Regions from separate parts of the Homo sapiens genome. Here all the other regions are linked to region 5. The links are contacts of gene promoters, found by promoter capture Hi-C in blood cells and fetal thymus (Javierre and others, 2016). All regions are on one chromosome and are shown on one strand. Each heading gives the region's core, a stretch centred on a gene start or on the middle of the fragment in contact. The rest is flanking DNA. Distances are from core to core; before and after follow the strand shown. Region 1 overlaps ASPH (aspartate beta-hydroxylase). Region 2 overlaps ASPH (aspartate beta-hydroxylase). Region 3 has its middle 19 kb from the start of LINC02842. Region 4 has its middle 30 kb from the start of MIR4470. Region 5 holds the start of GGH (gamma-glutamyl hydrolase). Region 6 overlaps ASPH (aspartate beta-hydroxylase). Region 7 overlaps ASPH (aspartate beta-hydroxylase).

Region 1 (2,700 bases), core at 27-2,526, 1.4 Mb after region 5:
ATAGGTGCTAAATATTTGTTGAACGATTAAATACAACATACAATTTAGTAAGTTTACAACTACTGCATATTTATGGAAAGAAATATATTGATTCTTTCTCATTATGGGCAGCAGTGAATAAAGTAAGCTAATCCTGGGCTTGGGTATTTGTGTCACTCATATTTGCTATGAGTGGTTGATTTAAAGTGCTGATTTCATTTGCATTTCATAGCTTCATCTAATTTTAATTAAAATTGGAGGGGCAATTATATAGTGATTAAATGCAAATGTTTTATAATTTCCAAATTTATCTGATTAACCTAAAGAACTAAAACCAAGGTATGTTTTAAGGGAATTAATGTGTTTTCCAAATCATGTTGTGGCCATTGCTGTGGACTGGCAGTATCTATTCACCATACATAATGACTGGAAGGCGGCTGTGGACACCCTGTTCCTCTTGGCAGCACAGGAATGGAAGTGGGTCCCAGTCCTGATGATTAACACTGAAAAGGGAGACTGCTGGTAGCTTCTGGAAAAAATTTCCTCAAGCCTAAGAAAGAAGCAGAGCAAGAGATGCTCCTTTTGCTTCTGGACATCGCCTTGTCTGAAAAAGAAGCTTGCAGCTGGGGAGCTCTGATTGCCAGCCTGAGGGTGAAGCTTGACCTGCGATGCAGTCAGCCGCCTCCGCACTTCTTGTTTAGTTAGATGATAAATTTCCTTCCTACCCAACCATTATAAGCTGGCAGTTTGGTAACTGCAGCCCCAGGAACATCGAAACCGACACATCTCATGTCATAACCTAATTTTGAATATTTATTTCATTGCTACTTCATTGCCACTTGTACCTCATAATAAATCCATTTTTGAAAACCTTTCCTATGACTGAATTGAGCTTATATGCATTTACTTTTCTTGATTCATTTTCGCTTGCTTTTTCCCTCAAATTTTAGAACTAAAATGAGCTTGGGTGGCAAAAAGTTTTTTGGAAACACTGAAATAAAATCTTGTACGGCAAATTCTTCCATATGGGTTGTTAAAGCAATTATAGTCTAGAATGTGTTTTTGTTAAGTTTCAAAAAGTTTATAGAGGTCTAGAGGAGGAGATACAGTAATATGATCTCAGCTTCTTTGAAGTTTACAATTTTTTTTTGTACTGATTTCATATCTGGAAATAGCTATGACCAGGTATTAACAATTTTATAATACACCTTCCACTTTGGACAGGGTAAAATAATCAATATTTTTTGCTCTGTGCTTTTGCTTTCTCCTGTTTTTCCTATGTTTTGCAATTTCAATTTTAGAGACAAATAAGTTCAAGTTGGTTAGAGAAAGCTGACTCTCAGGGGCATTGTATGTCGGAATGTTGGTATACTAGTAGTATTTGAACACGTAGCATTATGACTTTTCAAATGAAACTTCAAAACTCATTAAGAATGGGGTTTTCAGGCAGTTTAGATCTTTATCGTTTGGTGAGAAAACATTTCATTGCTTGTATAACACACGGAACACAGTTTGAGAGCCTGCTAAAGTGGGGTCAGTGAAGGATGACCCTGTAATTTTTCATTCAGACAGATAGTTTTGAGAGTGAAATAATCTCAGGACAGCAGACATAAACTGGGAGTGTCTCAGGCAAACTAGACTTATGACACTGAAATGGTGGATGCTGGAGCAGAAATACGGATCTCTGGTACATAGGAGTAGAGAAGTACTAATGTGAGTCCCCTTCCCTCTTCTACTCAGCTACTGGAGTGCACCTAAGAAGCCCTGGCCCTGCAGGGAATCTCCACAGCCATTTAGACTTAGCAGAGTAGTCACACCACTGGGTGTATTCAGCCCTTCAACAAGTGTTCATTGAGCAATTGCTATGTGCCAAGTGTTAGCTGAGGTGCTGAGAGTGCAAAGATAAATTACTTGATTCTTGAGATTCTTAAGCTTTTTCCCATTCATTCAGCAGAACTTGGCAATGAATCATTCCATACCTGTTCCATTAACAGTTGAGGGATGTAAAAATGATTATTTAAATGGTAAAAGGGAGGGCAGCCCTAAATTTGAATTTGAAATGTGATGTCTTTTACTAGGCCTTCATCTCTACCCCCTCCTCCCTGAACTTGAACTACAATTAGGACCTGTGTATAATCCCTTTGCAGCCTGTCTTACAGTTAGAGGTAACTTAGGTATAGAACACAACTGTATGTGTTGGTGTCAGGTGTACTAGTGGTGAGTTTTGTGTGGAAATAGTGTTGCAAATGGTAACTAGAGGAAATGTAAGTGATGTGGCAGGGTCCTGTGTATCTGTCTCTGTTTCTTTTAAGATTTGGGAAGAGGAATGTGGGAGTATGTTTTTGTCCATAAAAGAAACATGAAGAGACATAGGAAAAATAATAAAAAAGAAGAGTAATACATCGAAATGAAAATTTTCCAGACCACATTAGTGTGCATACATGAGCTGCACAGAGCTGCTTAAGATTAGAATACTGCCCTTCACATCACCTTGACCTTCCTGCCGCAGGCTGTCCATGCACAGTGACTACTCTTGGTAGGAGATTCTTAATGAGGTCAGGAGGAGTCCAGGATCAGCAAACGGAATCTTTGAACTCTTGAATTTAGCTGTTTTCTAAATACTTGGATTTAATTGAGGACCTATTTTAATGTTCCACATACAAAATATCAAATAACTTCAAATAACTAAGTTAATATAATAGATTTTAGACTGGCCTTGAC
Region 2 (2,700 bases), core at 29-2,528, 1.4 Mb after region 5:
AAAAGATTGATCGGTCTGGCATGCAACAAACAGACTGGAGAGACAAGAGTCAATACAGGGAGAACAGTTAAGTTAGCTGTAATCATCCAAATTGGGTCTTTCCGTGCATCACATCTCTCTCTGTCTGAAGGAACCAAAGGAGATGAGTTTCAAGAAAGGGATGTTCAGTGGTGCCCTGCGCTACTGAGAACCATGTGAGATGAGTGCTGAAAACCTGCCCTGATCTGGCGCTGCAGTGGCCTCAACGGGTGACTTTAGCTGGAACTGTTTCAGTGGACGGATAGGACAGATATGATAGTTTAAACCAAGGGTGGTGGCAATGATGGAGGAGGGAAGTGGGCAAAGTTGAGAAATGCTTAGAAGGTAAAATTGGCAGGTCTTCATGCATGGGTGTAGCTGGGGGGAGACAACAAGGTGCCAAGAGCCACATACACTCTTCTGCTTCTGCAGCCTGGTGACAGGGGGTGCTCTTTTCCTAACGTGGGAGAGACTGGAGTCAAGCACGGGGCAGGGGCTCATGAGTCCAGTTCTTTACATGATGATAGTGAGATTTCTTTGAGGCATCTGAGAGGAGAGATCAAATGAGCCATTTGGTGGTGTTTGACTCTCAGAAGAGAAGTCTACTTCGTGATTGTGAGTGTGGGAACCATCAGAGTAGTTACGTGGTCATCAGGACCAAGCTCTGAGATCCCTTAAGGAGAGCAGATTGAGGGAGACATGAGGTGGTTCTATGGCTGGACTTTGAAGAAAGCCAGCATTTAAGGACGGCTAAGAAAAAGATGAAGTGAAAAAGAAGATTGAGTGGGAGAAACGAAAAACCAAAGGGGAGAGTATGGTCACCCTGAAGTCCAGGGGCAACAGTGTTTGGAGAAGAATGGTGTTGCTAAAAATATAGCGAGGGCTGGCGAGTGTCCATCATATCAAATGAGGCACTGGAGGGGGTCTCAGCAGGAGCCTTTTCAGGGATGGGGTCAGGGTCTGAAGACAGGCGGGAGTGAGTTGAGGGGAGAGGAAGAGATGAGCCATGAGATGTAAATGACTGAAGAAATTAGATTGTTCAATGGAAGAAAGAGAGGGTGACGAGAAGCAAGCTTAAGAAAGAGTGGTATTGCATTTTTAAGTTCTTAGAAGCTTGAGCATGTTTAAATGCTGACACTGCTCAGGGCAACAGAGTGAGCACACATTCACTGCTCCTTCATCTTTCAAATGCCCCAAAAGGACAAAACGACCTATTAAACATTGTTCCCTGCTGTACCCCAATACTGAGAGTGTCTGAAAGATAGTAGGTGCTCAATAATTTTTCTTTATTAAATGAATAAGAAAGAATAAACTTACAACCATGCTGGGAAAAAGAAGGATGTTTTCTTGTAGTGTGCCAGAAAATTGGAGGTATTTTGGAAGATCAGGTTGACTGAGGAAGCTTTGAGCCACTGGGCCCTGGAGAGGCCTGTGTGGAGATGAGACTTCCTTGCAGCAGAGCAGAGAAGAAGCACTGAGCCTCATGCCAGCAAATGAGGGAGGCAAGGGCAGCACGCCCTAATTAGGGTGGGGAACGCTTCATTCTCAGGGGCTGGCGGCAGAGGTGTTTGGCCCCAGGTTAGAGGTCTGAGAATTGTTTCCTAAACAAAGCAGGGAATCTGCCCATGAACACCAGGATCCAGTTGATTCCCAGGGTACAGCTTCGGCTAATTCAAAACCTCCACCACAGACATGAAGAAAATTTTAAAAAGGTAGTAAAATTTTAAAAAGGTAGTAAAAAGTGGCTGCCCTGGAATTAGAATCCAGGCCTGTTTTACCCTAGACCAAACTCTTCTCCACCCTACTCTCTAGTCGGCTGTTTCCCAGTGACTGAACCTTGCAGGTTCAAAGATGCATAAGGCATTGTCTCTGCCCTTAAAGCATGTTGTCAGTTTTTGTGTTACAATGAAAGTTACGGGATTTTGTTTCTGTTTTTTTTTTTTTAGCAGTATATGAACCTCTAGAAAATGAAGGGATAGAAATCACAGGTAAGTTTTTTCTGTAAGCACATATTTTCTGCAAGTCAGCTTTCCCTGTATTTTGTTAAAACTCCTACCTGTGGAACAAAGAGTCAGTGTAGAAAAAATGCAAGACATTTTCAAGTCAGTAAGAAAATAATTGAGTATCAAAATTAAAGTTAATATTCTAATATAAATACTCTGCAGAAGACCCAGTTTAAAAAGAGTCAAATTTAGCAATCTGAGTGGACACGAGTTAATTTAGGAATCTGAATGAAGGCGAGTGAATGTAAGATGTGTCACTGGTCAGCAACATGTAATGGATTCTGATTTTATTCTTTATTTTAGAAGTAACTGCTCCCCCTGAGGATAATCCTGTAGAAGATTCACAGGTAATTGTAGAAGGTAAGATAAATTTATGGAAGTGGTTTTACCTTCCATATGAGAATTGTGTTTGTTTATTCAGTTATTTATCGAACATTTCCTACTTGCTGTCTATACAGTGCATAGGAGCTAGGAGTACAAGAGGGAAGAAAACACAGAGTCCTCTTTTCATTGGGGCTGGCATTCCAGTGGCCAAACAGATAATAAATAACGGAATTAAGGATTATGAGAAGTACAATGATAGTGATAAAAACAGGCTACTGTAACAGCAAACAATTGATGAGGGTGTGGAGGGCTACCCTGAGTAGCAGCAGGTTACCACCCCTGAGGGGTGATCTGG
Region 3 (2,700 bases), core at 74-2,573, 1.3 Mb after region 5:
ATTAGGGTATTATAGAAGATAATTGCTGTGTATGAATGGATTAAATACTCACATGAGAGTTTCCCAGATATGGTTAAAAGCCACACAAGTCATCAATACTTATGCTTCAAATCACTTGAGCATATAAGTCATTTACTTGCATTTCAGAATGCACAGTTGTTGAATTGCTCCATCCACTTTATTTGTTTTGAAATTAACTTCTGTGTACTCTCGCATTGCTAATGCCTGTCCGTGACCTTTTAGGCTGATGCTGCCTTAAAAGAACTAGAAAAACTGCCTGCTCACTGCATTAGTCACCAACAGAAGAAAAATTCACCATTTCCAGCCCATCAAGGTTTTTAGATTACTTCAGCTGGACAAAGTCATCACACAAATATATCTTAGTCAAGTACTTACGAGGTTGGAAAAGAATCTTAGGTGAAGGAGAAGTTTCAAGTCTCTCACAGTCACAGATAATAAGAGTTTTAGGATCCTATATCTTCTCTAGCCAGCAGACTCTATGTTGTGTCTCCAGAGGTCACACTTACTGTGGAAGCTCCACCAGAAGCTGTTTGATACTGTGGAGAGAGAGGCATTCTCTTCTGGAAAGGATGCTACTTTGTAAGACATATTATTTGGAATCAGCATTTTTATTGTATCATAGTCTGCTTAAAAAATAGATCACATGTAACACCATATGGAACTAAATGAGAGTTGTTTGAATTGGGTCAGTTCATGGGTTCTGATGCAATGGACAGAGGGCCAGATTTGAAGTAAAGCCTGGATACAAACATAGCTCTTCCATTTATGCACTGGTAACTATAGGTGAGTCCTTCACTTTCTCTGATCCTCTTTCCTCATCAATAAAGTCAGGAATTTAACACAGGGAATTATTAACATGGCCTTCAGAGCTAATGCCTCATAAATTTATTATTTTAAGCATTATGAAATGAAATAGCATTCATAAAAGCAGCACAAACTGCTAAAAAAAAGGTTTGTTTATAACCATTTCATGAATTAATCAATATGAAACTCTCAAAAAGAAACACGTTTACACAATTTGTTTGAATTAATTCTCCATTTTGAAGGTAAAACTGAGTATTTATGGAATCACCCTGTTGATATTTCTTCTAAGATTTTCAAATGGGGTTGAAGAAAACCCAGCTTAAATTTCAAATGGGGTTGAAAAAAACCCAGCTTAAATGGGTAGCCTCCATTGTTCATTTATTTTATTGGGTTTATAAAAGTTGAAGACATGAAGGTAGAATGTTAGAAAGTAAAATCTCAATGTATCTATATTATAGCTGATCACCACTAAATTTTCAGACATCTAAAAAAACCTACTTCCTTCCTATATTACTTGACCACAAACAGTGTAATAAGCCTGATTTAAAGGCCCTTTCCCTCTAAAAGTATTATTTTCAATGTTCACCAAGACTGAGTTTTATGAGTAAAATTTTCTCCCCTCCAATGTCAAAGGAACTCAGTGGTAAGAGTATAAAGTGACTAAACAGTTTTAGCCCTATCCTTCTTATGAAATAGCTTTGTGACCTTAGGCTAATCACGTCACCTCTCTGAGCTTCCAAGTTCTAATTTTCTAACAATGAAGTGCCAGGGAGATGAGAATAAACAACTTCAACGGCCTTTCCATGCCCAAAGACACTGCAGCAGAGCCGTCTATGAATGACAGATGAAATGCCTTAGAGGTTGTTACAGACTGAATGTTTGTATTAGACAAAAATGTATATGCTGAAATCTTAACCCCCAATGTGGGGGCATTAGGAGGGGAGGCCATTAGGAGATTATTACGTCATCTTTGGTATTAGAAACCCGTAACATCATTTTCTTTAGGTCTCTTATATTCACAGAGTGTCCTCAATTTTGTCTTTCATTATCTTATTCATTATTTATTCACTTTTAAAAGTAATATAAAGATATTCTTGTATTTATGCATTTAAACATACATGAATATATAACTAAGCAAACAGATAATAAAATTATTAAGTTTAGCTCTAAAATGCAGTTAACTGTCAGCATGCTAAATTTTAAAATATATAGTATTTGCCTAATGGGATTTTCCATTTTAATAAATTATAATAATTCCTTTAAGAAGAAAACAGACAAAATATATTATCATCTTGTATACTCATTTGTCTTACTCTGTAATTATAGTACTTAGTGTCATCTCAAACATTTATATTAATTACCACCTTTAACTAATCAACTTTTGTTTTCCTGGCCACAAGGAAACTAGAAGCAATATCTACTTAGATTTTTTCCATGAGTACACATTTTATACTGCATTTTAATAAACTTGAGATAAACACATTCAGATATATATATAATTCAAAGGCATTCAAATGCCCTATTAGTCTGTAGTATTTTGTAAAGATTGGAAATGAGTAAAACCCAAAATAATGTTTCTTGAATGATATTTAAACATTTTATTTTTATTTAGAAATAGTTGTGGTATACATATACCTTTTATTAATTAGCTTAATTTTATATTAGTCTAAGGTCTTAAAGCTAACCAAAGATCCAGAAATTACAAAGTTTACCAACACATTAAGCCCTTATGATCTGTTAAATAAGTATTCACAATATTAAATATCTAAAAGACACTCACATTTACAATTTTATTGGACTAAATACAATTTTATATTTCTTAACTTTATATAAGTTGCAGATATAATAACACATTATTGGGGCCATAGAACTAAC
Region 4 (2,700 bases), core at 187-2,686, 1.3 Mb after region 5:
TAAAGCCATTATCACAGGAGTGGAGTCCTAATAAAAAGTATGAGTTCGGCCCTATTTCCTCTGTCTGTCTCGTGTGCTCAATTGCCCTGCTGCCATGTCATAATGCAGCAGGAAGGCCCTCACCAGAGGCAGCCCCTGATCATGGAATTCCCAACCTCCAGAACAATGAGCAATAGATAAATCTCTTTTCTGTATAAATTCCTCACTCTGTGTTACTCTGTTGTAGCAACAGAAAATGGACTAATAAAGCCCAAACCACACCATTATGTAATATATTCATGTAACAAACCTGCATGTGTACCACCTGAATCTATAAAAATGTTTTTAAAAAAGAAAGAAAATGGATGAATACACTAACATTGTGCCTAGCACATAGCAGATAGTCAAGAAGTATTTATTGAACTGAGCAGTTTAATGTACATAAAAAGCATCTGCAGACAAGAAAAACAGCAGTATTAACCTATTCACAGCCATAACACTAGACATCCCCAAAACATACACATGGCCCTTCCTTTCTAATCTTCAAAGTTTTTTTTTTTAAATTGAAGAATAATGAGTAGTCTGGGGAAATTTTTGGTTATCCAACAAAGCTACTCATTATTCATCCCTTGTTATCAGATACATAGCTAGACCACATTTCTCAGGCTCCCTTATATTTTAAGTGTGGCCATGTGACGAAGTTCTCACAAGTTGAAGTTATATTTGTCACTTGTGGGCTGCCTCCTCAATATCCTACTTTCCTCCTTTATGTTTGCTGGAATCCAAAGTAATCAAACCTTAACCATGCAGATGATGACAATACTTTAGGGAATTGTGGAGCTCTAAAACAGAAAATGCCTGGATTGTGAAGTGACCACATGGAGCAGAGCTGAATCATGAAGCTAGAGCATCTGCCTTGGAGTTGTTAACATGAGAAAGAAAAAAAAAATCTTTTTTCTTGAAGCCCCTGGATTTTTGGGTCCCTTTGTTACAGCAGTTACCTTATCTTAACTGAACAAAAGTAAAAAGAATTTAAAAATAAGGACAAGCCAGAAGCTGGGAGGTAGGATTTAGATTGAAAATAAAAACAAATAGTAAGTAAGGAAAAAAATGGATTTTAAAATATAAGAAACTACATGGGGAGAAGTGAGTCTGTGTTGGAGCTGAGCAGTAAGGGAGGTTTCACATTTAAAGAAAGATTTTTGAAGCTGTAAAATGTGTAAGAGACAAAGATAAGTAGAGAAAGAGCCTTTTAAAGAATTTGTTACTTTTGATTGCGTTTTCTTTTGACTTATCTTAGACAATACAAATGTTTAATATATTTTAAAATCATTCTTGGCCCCCATGCTGGTATTAATTTAAATGTAATACTAAGTAAATGGACCAGCCCTAGAAATAGTCAAATTAAATCATCTTATACAAATTTTTTTTTTTTTTTTTTTTTTGAGACGGGGTCTTGCTCTGTCGTCTAGGCTGGAGTGCAGTGGTGTGATCTCGGCTCACTGCAACCTCCGCCTCCCGGGTTCAAGCTATTCTCCTGCCTCAGCCTCCCGAGTAGCTGGGATTACAGGCGCCAGCCACCACGCCCAGCTAATTTTTTGTATTTTTAGTAGAGACGAGGTTTCGCCATGTTGCCCAGGCTGGTTTCGAACTCCCGAGCTCAGGCAATCTGCCTGCCTCAGCCTCCCAAAGTGCTGGGATTACAAGCGTGAGCCACCGTGCCTGGCTCATCTTATACATATTTCTAAAAAATTGAATGAATACCGCCTCCCATTAGAATTTAGACTATCAAATTGTTTTTGAACTTTGAATTATTTCGTACTGGCAAAGAAAACTTTCATGCTAATTTTGAGGCAAAGTAAAGTCATACTGGTGTTGAACAAACATGTTTACCAATGTCTCCAGGTGTCCATCAGGCTGGAAAGTAATTTAGAACATGGGAATGGATACTACTGTATTTTTTTCATTGTCATTGATCAGTGTTCTTTTGCTTATTTTGCTTCAAATGTTTTAAAATTTTTCAAACTACCAAAAGTTGAAAAATAGTATGATAAATACCAATATGCCCTTCACCTAGATTCATTATTTGTTAACTTTTTGTTGCTGTTGTGTGCGTGCGCGCGCTCTCTCTCTCTTCTCCTCTCTCAAAGCTATTCTCCTATATTGTCTATGTTTTCTTCTAGATAAATTATGTTTTGCCTTTCCTAATTACATTTAAAAATCTGTCTGGCATAGATTTTTGTGTATAATGTGGTAGGGATCAATATTTATTTTTAAGTAATATACACATATTGCTTAAACATTGGTGCTGGATATCAAGCTATTTGGGGGACTACAAACCCACTCTTTTGTACTCTGCTTTGTGATGTCAGGGTGGGACTCAACAAACCCCGCATCTCCTTTGTCATACTGTGCTCTATGATGTCTCATGAGCAGGAGGCCCTAGAGGGAGACTAGAAGTTTGAGAAGGACCAGGCACATGCTCCTTCCTGTTCACTCTGTTAGGGTCACTCCAGCAAGGAGCTTAGGTACAGCAATGGTCTTGTTTACAATAGTAGTTGTTCTGGTTGCTAGTTTTTTCCATGCTCCCAATGCTAGCCTCATTGCACTCCTTCAGAGGAATCAGCACCAATCCTGTGGTACCCCTTCCTGTGAGGTCTAGGTCCCCACTGTGATGGGCCTTTCCTTCAAGCTCTTAGGTTCTAAGAATCACAAACTCTT
Region 5 (2,700 bases), core at 201-2,700:
TTTTCCAAGTTTGTGCTTTAACTTTAATTTTCTTATATAGTCAATTTTTAATTAACATTTTTATTTTTAATGTTTTATGAAACTCTTCCAACAGCCTAAGTTAGGAAGATATATTTATATATTTTCTTATCAAAGTATAATATTTTGCTTTCGTATTTACATATGCACTTCACCTCGAGTTTATTTTTGTGTGTAACGCCGGGTAAAAAATTTTTCCTATGTGGATAGTCAATTATTCTGGCACCACAAGTTCATATTTACAAGGCTACTTGTCTATTTAATCATGCTCAAAACCAGCTCGGCCCTTTCATGTCTTTCATCACATCCTTTGTTGCTTACCTCTCACCACACCCTTCTACAGAAGCGTTATTTTCTTGTTAAACCAGACTATTCACTGCATTTACTCTTCTTGCAACATGCTAAAATTGTTCCTGTTGTCTCTACGAGTCACGCTTTCTGCCTTTTTTCCTTACTGAATTTAAACCTCTTGTGAAAAAGACTGTCCAATTTACGTTTTCACCCTTAATACTGAGCATTGATGTAGCAGGTTTTCAAATATTCTTGTTTTATGCTGAATTTCAGTTGGCCCTTATAGATGGAAACTTTCACTGAGTACAAGCTATATATCCATGTATTTAGGAACAATCAACAGTTTTAACGAATAGGAACCAGTCATCTTTTCTGCCCCGGTGGATAGGCTTAGTGGTGGTCGGTGGATGGCGCTGACCGCGGTTGATCAGAGGAAGCTGACGCCGTTTGCAGGCGTGGCCTGGGCGTGCCCGCTTCAAAGTAGACGCCCGGAGTTGGCCCAGTTCTGACCCTAGTGATGCGCCTGTGCGTGTGTTCCTATCGCCGTCCCGTCTTCACTTCCTACAGATGCCGCGACCCCCCAAATAGCAAGTGTGGACATTCACATTCAGGGGCACAGGCTGTCCGTACAGCGAACGTTGTCACCATTCCCGGAGATAGGGCCCCGACCTTCAAGGGGGCGGTGCGGTTGGCGCGCAGTTCTCAGGCGCCTTCTAGAATCCCCTGCCAGCCTCCCCGCTGCCTGGTTACCAAACTCGGCCGGGGACACCCAACCTCCCCTCTCGAGGACCTGGGTTGGCCAGCCCAGCTTTGTACGGGTGACTGAAGTCCACATCGACGTAACAGTTGAAAGGGAAGGACGCGGAGACCACCCGGTACCCGCCCCAGGCGTTTCCAGAGTCTCCGCTTAGGCGGCCCGTGGGGGTCGGGGTCGCGGTCGCGGTCGCGGACCGGGGACAGAGCAATGGGGCGGGCGCGCAGCGCCGGCTGCACTCCCAGAGCCTCCCACCGCCGCCCCACGGCCGCCTAGCGCGCGCCGGGACTGCATTTCCCATAGGCCCACGCTGCGGAGCACCGCCCACCCGAGTCTCACGCGAGTGCGCTGCCGCGAGGTGTCCCTGCCGCAGCCCCCGCCCGCCCGCAGAGCTTTTGAAAGGCGGCGGGAGGCGGCGAGCGCCATGGCCAGTCCGGGCTGCCTGCTGTGCGTGCTGGGCCTGCTACTCTGCGGGGCGGCGAGCCTCGAGCTGTCTAGACCCCACGGCGACACCGCCAAGAAGCCCATCATCGGTAAGGAGGCTGTGCGGGGCCGCAGCAGACGGGGAGGAGCTGGGTGTTGGCGCTGGGCGCCTCCCGCCGCCGCGCTCCAGCTGGCGCGTCCCGCCGGGAAAAACCCCCAGATGTGCTTCGCTTTTGGTGCAAGGAGGAACCCGGGCTGGGCACCATTTAGGTCGTACTGAAATGTACCTGGTTGAGGTACCTCGTTCATTCCTTTAGACTCATATGACTCTTAAAGGTGGGAGGGAGGAGGGTGCACCATGAAGAATCCTGCGGATTTTCTTTTTTTGTACACAGCTAGGAATTTCTACTAAAATAAAACATTTCCTTTTCGCACATAGTTGGGAAGTTTTACTCATTTACATCTACAAATTCTGTACATGCATTGCATTCATCAAAATGTATTGATGGCGTATTTAAAATACCAGTGCATTGTAATAGAAAATCAAGAAATTAAGGTATAACTTGGATTTTGTCATGTTCAGTAGCAGAGGACAACAGTGGCTGATATCCTAATGTGAGTTCTATTTGGTGTTAAAATGCAGCCCACAATTTTTCGTTTCCAACATATTTGTGTTTTAAAGAGGTAGTAAAATCAGTCTGTGTTACCAAAACACACATTTGAGACAGGCCCAAGGAAAGCTACCTAGGAGAAATCATCCTGGGGTTAAAATTTGCCCAAAGAAATTTGTGTGTGGACATTAAGATTAGTTTTATTTTGGCTGTAGGATTATGCCTTTCATACTATTTTTTTCTATGAATATTATCACTGTATTCTGTAACTAAACAGAAAGTAGATGAATGTTTTTTCATATAGGTAGTGCCCAGTTTTCAAATGGGTTGCTTACTAATATTTGGAACTTATTTCATAGCTGTTTAACATGGTGATTTGATTCTCCACGAATTAACTCAAGCTGTAATTAATGTAACAGGTTGCATATTGTGTGTCCAGAGAAGAGAAAAAAAAGCAGAGGGGATTCTTCCCCTTTCCTAGAATCAGGGGTAGCCCTGCGTCAAATATTTAAAAAAGGGACTTTGCTTTTGGTCACTGAGATCAGCACAACATCGTTAACTGAGTACCGACTATGTACACAATCTTGCTCTGGGAAGTGCAAA
Region 6 (2,700 bases), core at 191-2,690, 1.4 Mb after region 5:
GCTGTTTCCTGCAGTGAGACCAATTGTGAATGAGCCTTTTCCTGTTTCCTTAGGCCTCAACGGATCTTGTAAAGGAGTAGGAATGGATTGTGCTGTTTCACTTTTCTGTCCTTTTCTCTCTGGCTAAGAATATGGAATGGTTTAGGGGGAGATATTTTCTTCTGTGTGTTAACAGAGTTTTTAAGATTCTGCAGAAATGAAATGGGACGGAGAAAAGGATTTGGCTACATTTTTATGTGATTTCATTAAGTTGTTTATGTGCTCTGCCTTTGGAAAGAGGTAATATTCAGGTCATTTTGATGAGTAACTTGGATGGAATATACATATTATACTAAATCTTTAAAAAAATTCAGGAGTTTATTTCCTGCACTACTTCAAAGTTAGTGTTGCATCTAAACAATCTTTTCTGTTTTCAGAAATATTTTGTGTGACGTGTTTTGAGAATTTAACTGGAAACTGTTTTTGAAATGATCTATCATTGTACATAATCCCAAATTATTGGAGAAATAATTGTGAGAATAAGTGTTCAGTAAAATGTTTTCTTCTTATGATATCTTACATTTATTTCTAAACAGAGACAAAGCATGGAGGACACAAGAATGGGAGGAAAGGCGGACTCTCAGGAACTTCATTCTTCACGTGGTTTATGGTGATTGCATTGCTGGGCGTCTGGACATCTGTAGCTGTCGTTTGGTTTGATCTTGTTGACTATGAGGAAGTTCTAGGTAAGAATTTTGATATCCTTATGTGAATTTGTAAGAGAGTAAGTGACATCTCTTAGGAGTCTTGAATATTTGTTATCATCTTTCTGGTACTGGTAATTTCTATAGCCTTTCAGTGGTTCTCAATAGAGTGAGGCTGAAAGGGGATATGAAGAAGGTTACCTTGGAGTATTGTCTTTTGAACTCTTTAAATGTGACCTGTAGGTTTTTGAAAAAAGGCTTTATATTGTATGTCTGTCACACAGGGAGAAGTTTTATCAAACAGTACTCATTCTCACTATATGCAGTACTTTTTGATTTCTATTCAATTTTGTTATATTATAAATTTTAAAAATACTTGATCATGAGCCATTACATTTATTTAAGGACTTGCTAATGGATCATAACCACACAATATGCAAAACTCTTCCTTAGAGAGGGTTTTCAAAGTACACCCTTCTGTGTCTCTGTTGGGATGGGATGAGTACGTGTGCACACATATAGGTACTGGATGGGTGTGCTGAGATAGGCGTTTGTAGATATTATTGTGTGTGTGTAGGTGTGATCTGTGTGCTGTTCTGAGGAAGTTGCTGTGGTCCTTCTGATAGTGTCCTTTCTCCACCTTTTTCCTTTTCTGTAATCACTGAAGTTTTTCATGATTTTTTACATTAATGATTCTTTGTTATTTTTGGAGTCACATTCTCCTTCACTTCCCCAAAAATCTTTTTTTAAACTGAAATAAAATTCAATATTATATATATTTGAATGTGTACAATTCAGTTTTTTTTTACTATATTCATCATTTTATATACCCATCAGCATTATCTAGTTCCAGATTATTTTTGTTACCCCCTTCCCCTAAATACCCAAACTCTTCCTCTTTCCCTCTCCTGGGAAACACTAATCTACTTTCTGTGTCTGTGCTTTTGTTTATTCTGGGCATTTCATGTAATGGAACCATACATTATATGATCTTTTGTATCTGCCTTTTTGCACTTAGCATAATGTTTTTAAAGTTCAGTACTTCATTTTATGGCTGCATAATATTCCATCATATGGGCACACCACATTTTGGTTATCTGTTTATCAGTGATGGACATTTGGGTTGTTTCCACTTTTTGGCTGTTGTGAATAATGGTCCTCCTCTTTAGTAATCCAGTGAAAGATGTGGACCTGTCACTGGAAAAAATGCACACTTGTGTCTATGTACAATGTTGCATGGGTGATATCCCCTTGCATTGGACTTCCTGTGCTTCTGCTTTACTTGTCAAATTATAGACATATTTTTGGGGAGAAAGGGCAAACAAATTTTTGGCTGTAGGAATAACAAAATATGCTTATTTGTAATCTGTCTTTCATTGAAGTTTTTCATTTTCATTACTTTAAAGAAAGTGTCTCTGGATAGATTGACAGACCAACTGAGGGAGAATTTTAGTCTGGAGACAAATTTCTGAGTAGATCTATGCTTTGACTGACTTACAGTGATATGTTGTTAGGGAATGTATCTTAAAAGAGGACACTTTAAGTATTTGTACCTTTAAGCACAAATAACAGTTTTCATGTTTTTACATGCATGCAGCCAAAGCAAAGGACTTCCGTTATAACTTATCAGAGGTGCTTCAAGGTAGGCTATTGGAGTTGCATTTCAAGTCTACGTGTGTTACTCTCTAATGGCTCATCCTTTTTCTACTAATTTAATTATTATCTACATCAGAATATAAGTGATAGGACCAATTTCCCATTATGGGTTTGTCAGAAAGGGTAGTATTTTCTATCTTTTACTGTTTCTTGAATTCTGTACTCTGCATAGCCTTGATTAGTACTTTTTGTTTTCTTAGCAGTTGAAATAACATCCTTATCTCTTCTTTCATCATAATCATTTTAAATGTGTATGTGTTTGCTAAGTCAGACTTCTATATAGCAAGTTAACCATTTTCCTAGGTAGAGCAAGGGCTCTGGGGAGATAAAGATTGATCAGAACTAATCTGAGCCAAAATTT
Region 7 (2,700 bases), core at 55-2,554, 1.4 Mb after region 5:
GGCCAGGCTGGTCTCAAACTCCTGGCCTTGTTGTAATCCTCCCACCTCGGCCTCCCAAAGTGCTGAGGTTACAGGCATGAACCACCGTGCCTGGCCTTAGCTGTTTCTTTCTAGTACTTAGTTATGCATTTCTAAATAATTTGTATAATGCTGCAGTTTTCTCCTTAATATCAGAAACCGTTGGCTGACTCTGTTTTATAGATCGGTGAGATTAGCTCGATCATCATACTCTCACAAGCTCTCCGCTGCCTTACTTCCTGGATCTTCCGATATATTTAGGACATAACTATAAATAAGATAGCGATACCTGCTAATGAGAAAACACAAGGCAAGAAGGGGCAAATCAGCAGCTTTTGATAGAGTTGATCACTTCCTGTCCTTCAAACACTCCCTTCACATGGCTTGCTGGATACATTCTCTTGGTCTTTCTCCTGCTCTCTACTGTTTGCTTTTCTCAGGCTCTTTGGATGGATGTTTCTCATCTCCTTGACCATTAATCACCGGAGTGCCCCAGACTTAGTCCTCGGAGCATTTCCCCATATACACGCACTCTCTTAATGATCTCATCTAATCTCATGGCTTTAAATGCCTCTGTATGCCACAGATTGCCAAATTTACTCACAGCCTGGGTCTTTTGCCTGCACTCTAGACTGGTGTGTCCAGCTGTCTACATGTTGTCTGCCTGATAACTTCAATGTGTTGGATGTGTAATAATCACTTCAAACTTAACAAGTCTAAAACCGACTCCTGATCTTTCCCCCTCAAAACACACTTCATCCCCTTAAAATTAGTGTGCCAACTACATGCCAGGAATTGTTCTAGACAAGTGGTTGCAGGTGAGAGCAAGACAGACCAGGTTCCTGTTTCAGGGAACTCACATCCCAGTAGGGAGACCAGCAGTACACACACAGACTGAAATTGTGGTAAGAGTTCTGAGGAAACAAAGCAGGAGAGCATGCCGTAGGCAGAAGGGGTGGTGAATTAGGGAAGAAGGTGTCCCAGGAGGTTAGGGAAACCTAAGCACTCTGAGCAGAGGAACAGTTTGTACAAAAGTCCTGAGACAAGAGAGAAGGGCCCAAGAAGCTGGAGCACCTGAACAAGCCTAGAGTGTGTAAGATACAGTTAGAGAAAGTCAAAGACTAGACCACAGTGGGAGTCTGGACTTTTCTTCATGCTGTGGACACCGTACCCAGCCCATGCACATCTGTGTACCAAACAGAGCCCTTTCTCATTTACACATTGACTGGTTTGCTTCTGGGAGGTTCACTATAATGCATTCTTACAAAGAGAGGGACAGGGAGTCCGAATGGTGGGCATGGCTTGTTGCAGATAAACAGAAACACTTGCAAACCTGCCCCAAATCTGCTGCTCACAGGGCAGTTGCAATTGTGAGCTCCTCATATCTCTGCCTCTCATGCTCCAGACCTCCCATTCTAGTCTTAGCAGCCCGTACCTTCCCCTGCACTGTCGGGTATCCTCGGTGCACAGGTCTGACCTCCAGGGATGCTGATCCTAAAGGGGGTTTGCCAGGGAAGTGTAGAGGCTGGAACCTCTGGAACCTGCAAAGAAAATCATTGCAACGGCTTCTGTTGACTGGTTTGTCACTCTCCCCCCATTTAAAATTAGCACTTTAGATCAGTACCAACCAAAATATGTTTGTAACTAAAGTATTTTATTAAGGGGGAAATGCAGGAATAGACAGAATTAAAAGAAATAATGAATCAATGTCATCACAGATTTATTAAAAATCTATTGGAGCAAATTGTGAGCTGTGGAAATTCCATGTATTTTTTATTCAAATCGATTCATATGATACTGTTATCTGGTAAGGAAAAGGGAAAGGGAAACATTATGTAAACATTACATATCCAGAATATGTAGTAAAAAAATGGAATGGCCTTCACTCATCAGACTTTAGTTTCATAATAACAGAAACTGAAATTTTTTTAAGGCAAAATAGGCCCTCATTTGCAGACATCTGTTACTTGAGTCAAATCAGATTATTTTTATGTTTTAGATAAAATTGCGATATCAGTTTCTCCCCACTGGATGTCATCTTTTCCCACATATTCCATAGCCCATGGTCACAAAATGTGTGAACTACAAAATAATCCAATACAAAAATGGCTTGTTAAATGTCAAATTCAAACAGTCATTCGTGTTCATCCATTTATTGAGTACATAGTGAGTACTTATGATGTCCAGGCTCTGTTTTAGGCACTGGGCCCAAAACAGTCAATAAAACAGTTGCAGCTCTCATTGTACTTGCTTTTTAGTGTGTATAGGGGAGAGAGTGGGGCTGGATATGTAGTTTTAAAAAATTAAAATATAAGAGGCAGTGTGAAGTGTGAAAAGGAATATAAGACAGGAAAGGAAAACAGAATGAGCAGGAGGTGTTGCTGTGTAATAGGCCTCTTGGATGGTGACATTTAAGCAGAGATTTGAAGAGGCAAGGGCAGGAGTTGCACCGGCGTCTGGGAGAAGAGTTCCGAGACTTGGGGAGCATTCTCATGGTCCTCAGGGCATGTGTGCTTAGCATGTTTGAGGCCTAACAAGGAGGCGATTGCTGGTAAAGAAGGTATGAGGGGAGAGTGCAGGAGTGCATGAGACCAGAGTGGTCAAGGGTTCAAATCACATAGGCTTTCGAAGACAAAAGTAAGAACTTGTGTATTACCTCCAGTGAGATGGCCATTGGGAGAT

Evidence for each region. Contacts are between HindIII fragments. The CHiCAGO score rates a contact against its expected background, and 5 or more counts as called.
Region 1: a contact is called between a fragment that was not itself captured here and the fragment with the promoter of GGH in region 5, in 5 of 17 cell types (naive B cells, monocytes, total B cells and 2 more). The highest score is 11.4, in naive B cells.
Region 2: a contact is called between a fragment that was not itself captured here and the fragment with the promoter of GGH in region 5, in 1 of 17 cell types (total B cells). The highest score is 8.0, in total B cells.
Region 3: a fragment that was not itself captured here is called in contact with the fragment with the promoter of GGH in region 5 in 3 of 17 cell types (endothelial precursors, monocytes and total B cells); the score reaches 11.9 in endothelial precursors.
Region 4: a fragment that was not itself captured here is called in contact with the fragment with the promoter of GGH in region 5 in 1 of 17 cell types (naive B cells); the score reaches 5.9 in naive B cells.
Region 6: a fragment that was not itself captured here is called in contact with the fragment with the promoter of GGH in region 5 in 4 of 17 cell types (total B cells, monocytes, naive B cells and 1 more); the score reaches 11.5 in total B cells.
Region 7: a contact is called between a fragment that was not itself captured here and the fragment with the promoter of GGH in region 5, in 1 of 17 cell types (M0 macrophages). The highest score is 5.3, in M0 macrophages.

What each region holds. Positions count from the first base shown.
Region 1 is chr8:61,654,282-61,656,981 of GRCh38, reverse strand. The region is part of intron 3 of ASPH (aspartate beta-hydroxylase); the gene reads left to right. Among named protein-coding and RNA genes, the nearest start is that of ASPH, 59 kb to the left of the region's middle. The HindIII fragment of the contact is 1,275 bases long and covers 639-1,913 here.
Region 2 is chr8:61,637,628-61,640,327 of GRCh38, reverse strand. ASPH (aspartate beta-hydroxylase) reads left to right here. Exons shown (of 25, transcript NM_004318.4): 11 at 1,965-2,006; 12 at 2,325-2,381. Among named protein-coding and RNA genes, the nearest start is that of ASPH, 76 kb to the left of the region's middle. The HindIII fragment of the contact is 289 bases long and covers 1,134-1,422 here.
Region 3 is chr8:61,764,876-61,767,575 of GRCh38, reverse strand. No RefSeq gene overlaps it. Among named protein-coding and RNA genes, the nearest start is that of LINC02842, 19 kb to the left of the region's middle. RefSeq lists an enhancer at 1-14. The HindIII fragment of the contact is 4,158 bases long and covers 1-2,700 here.
Region 4 is chr8:61,743,455-61,746,154 of GRCh38, reverse strand. No RefSeq gene overlaps it. Among named protein-coding and RNA genes, the nearest start is that of MIR4470, 30 kb to the right of the region's middle. The HindIII fragment of the contact is 9,334 bases long and covers 1-2,700 here.
Region 5 is chr8:63,037,556-63,040,255 of GRCh38, reverse strand. It overlaps GGH (gamma-glutamyl hydrolase), which reads left to right and starts at 1,450. Exons shown (of 9, transcript NM_003878.3): 1 at 1,450-1,596. The coding sequence starts at 1,488. RefSeq lists a silencer at 1,057-1,416. The HindIII fragment of the contact is 10,760 bases long and covers 1-2,700 here.
Region 6 is chr8:61,682,064-61,684,763 of GRCh38, reverse strand. It overlaps ASPH (aspartate beta-hydroxylase), which reads left to right. Exons shown (of 25, transcript NM_004318.4): 2 at 576-725. Among named protein-coding and RNA genes, the nearest start is that of ASPH, 31 kb to the left of the region's middle. The HindIII fragment of the contact is 6,282 bases long and covers 1-2,700 here.
Region 7 is chr8:61,615,045-61,617,744 of GRCh38, reverse strand. All of the region lies in intron 14 of ASPH (aspartate beta-hydroxylase), which reads left to right. Among named protein-coding and RNA genes, the nearest start is that of ASPH, 98 kb to the left of the region's middle. The HindIII fragment of the contact is 5,854 bases long and covers 1-2,700 here.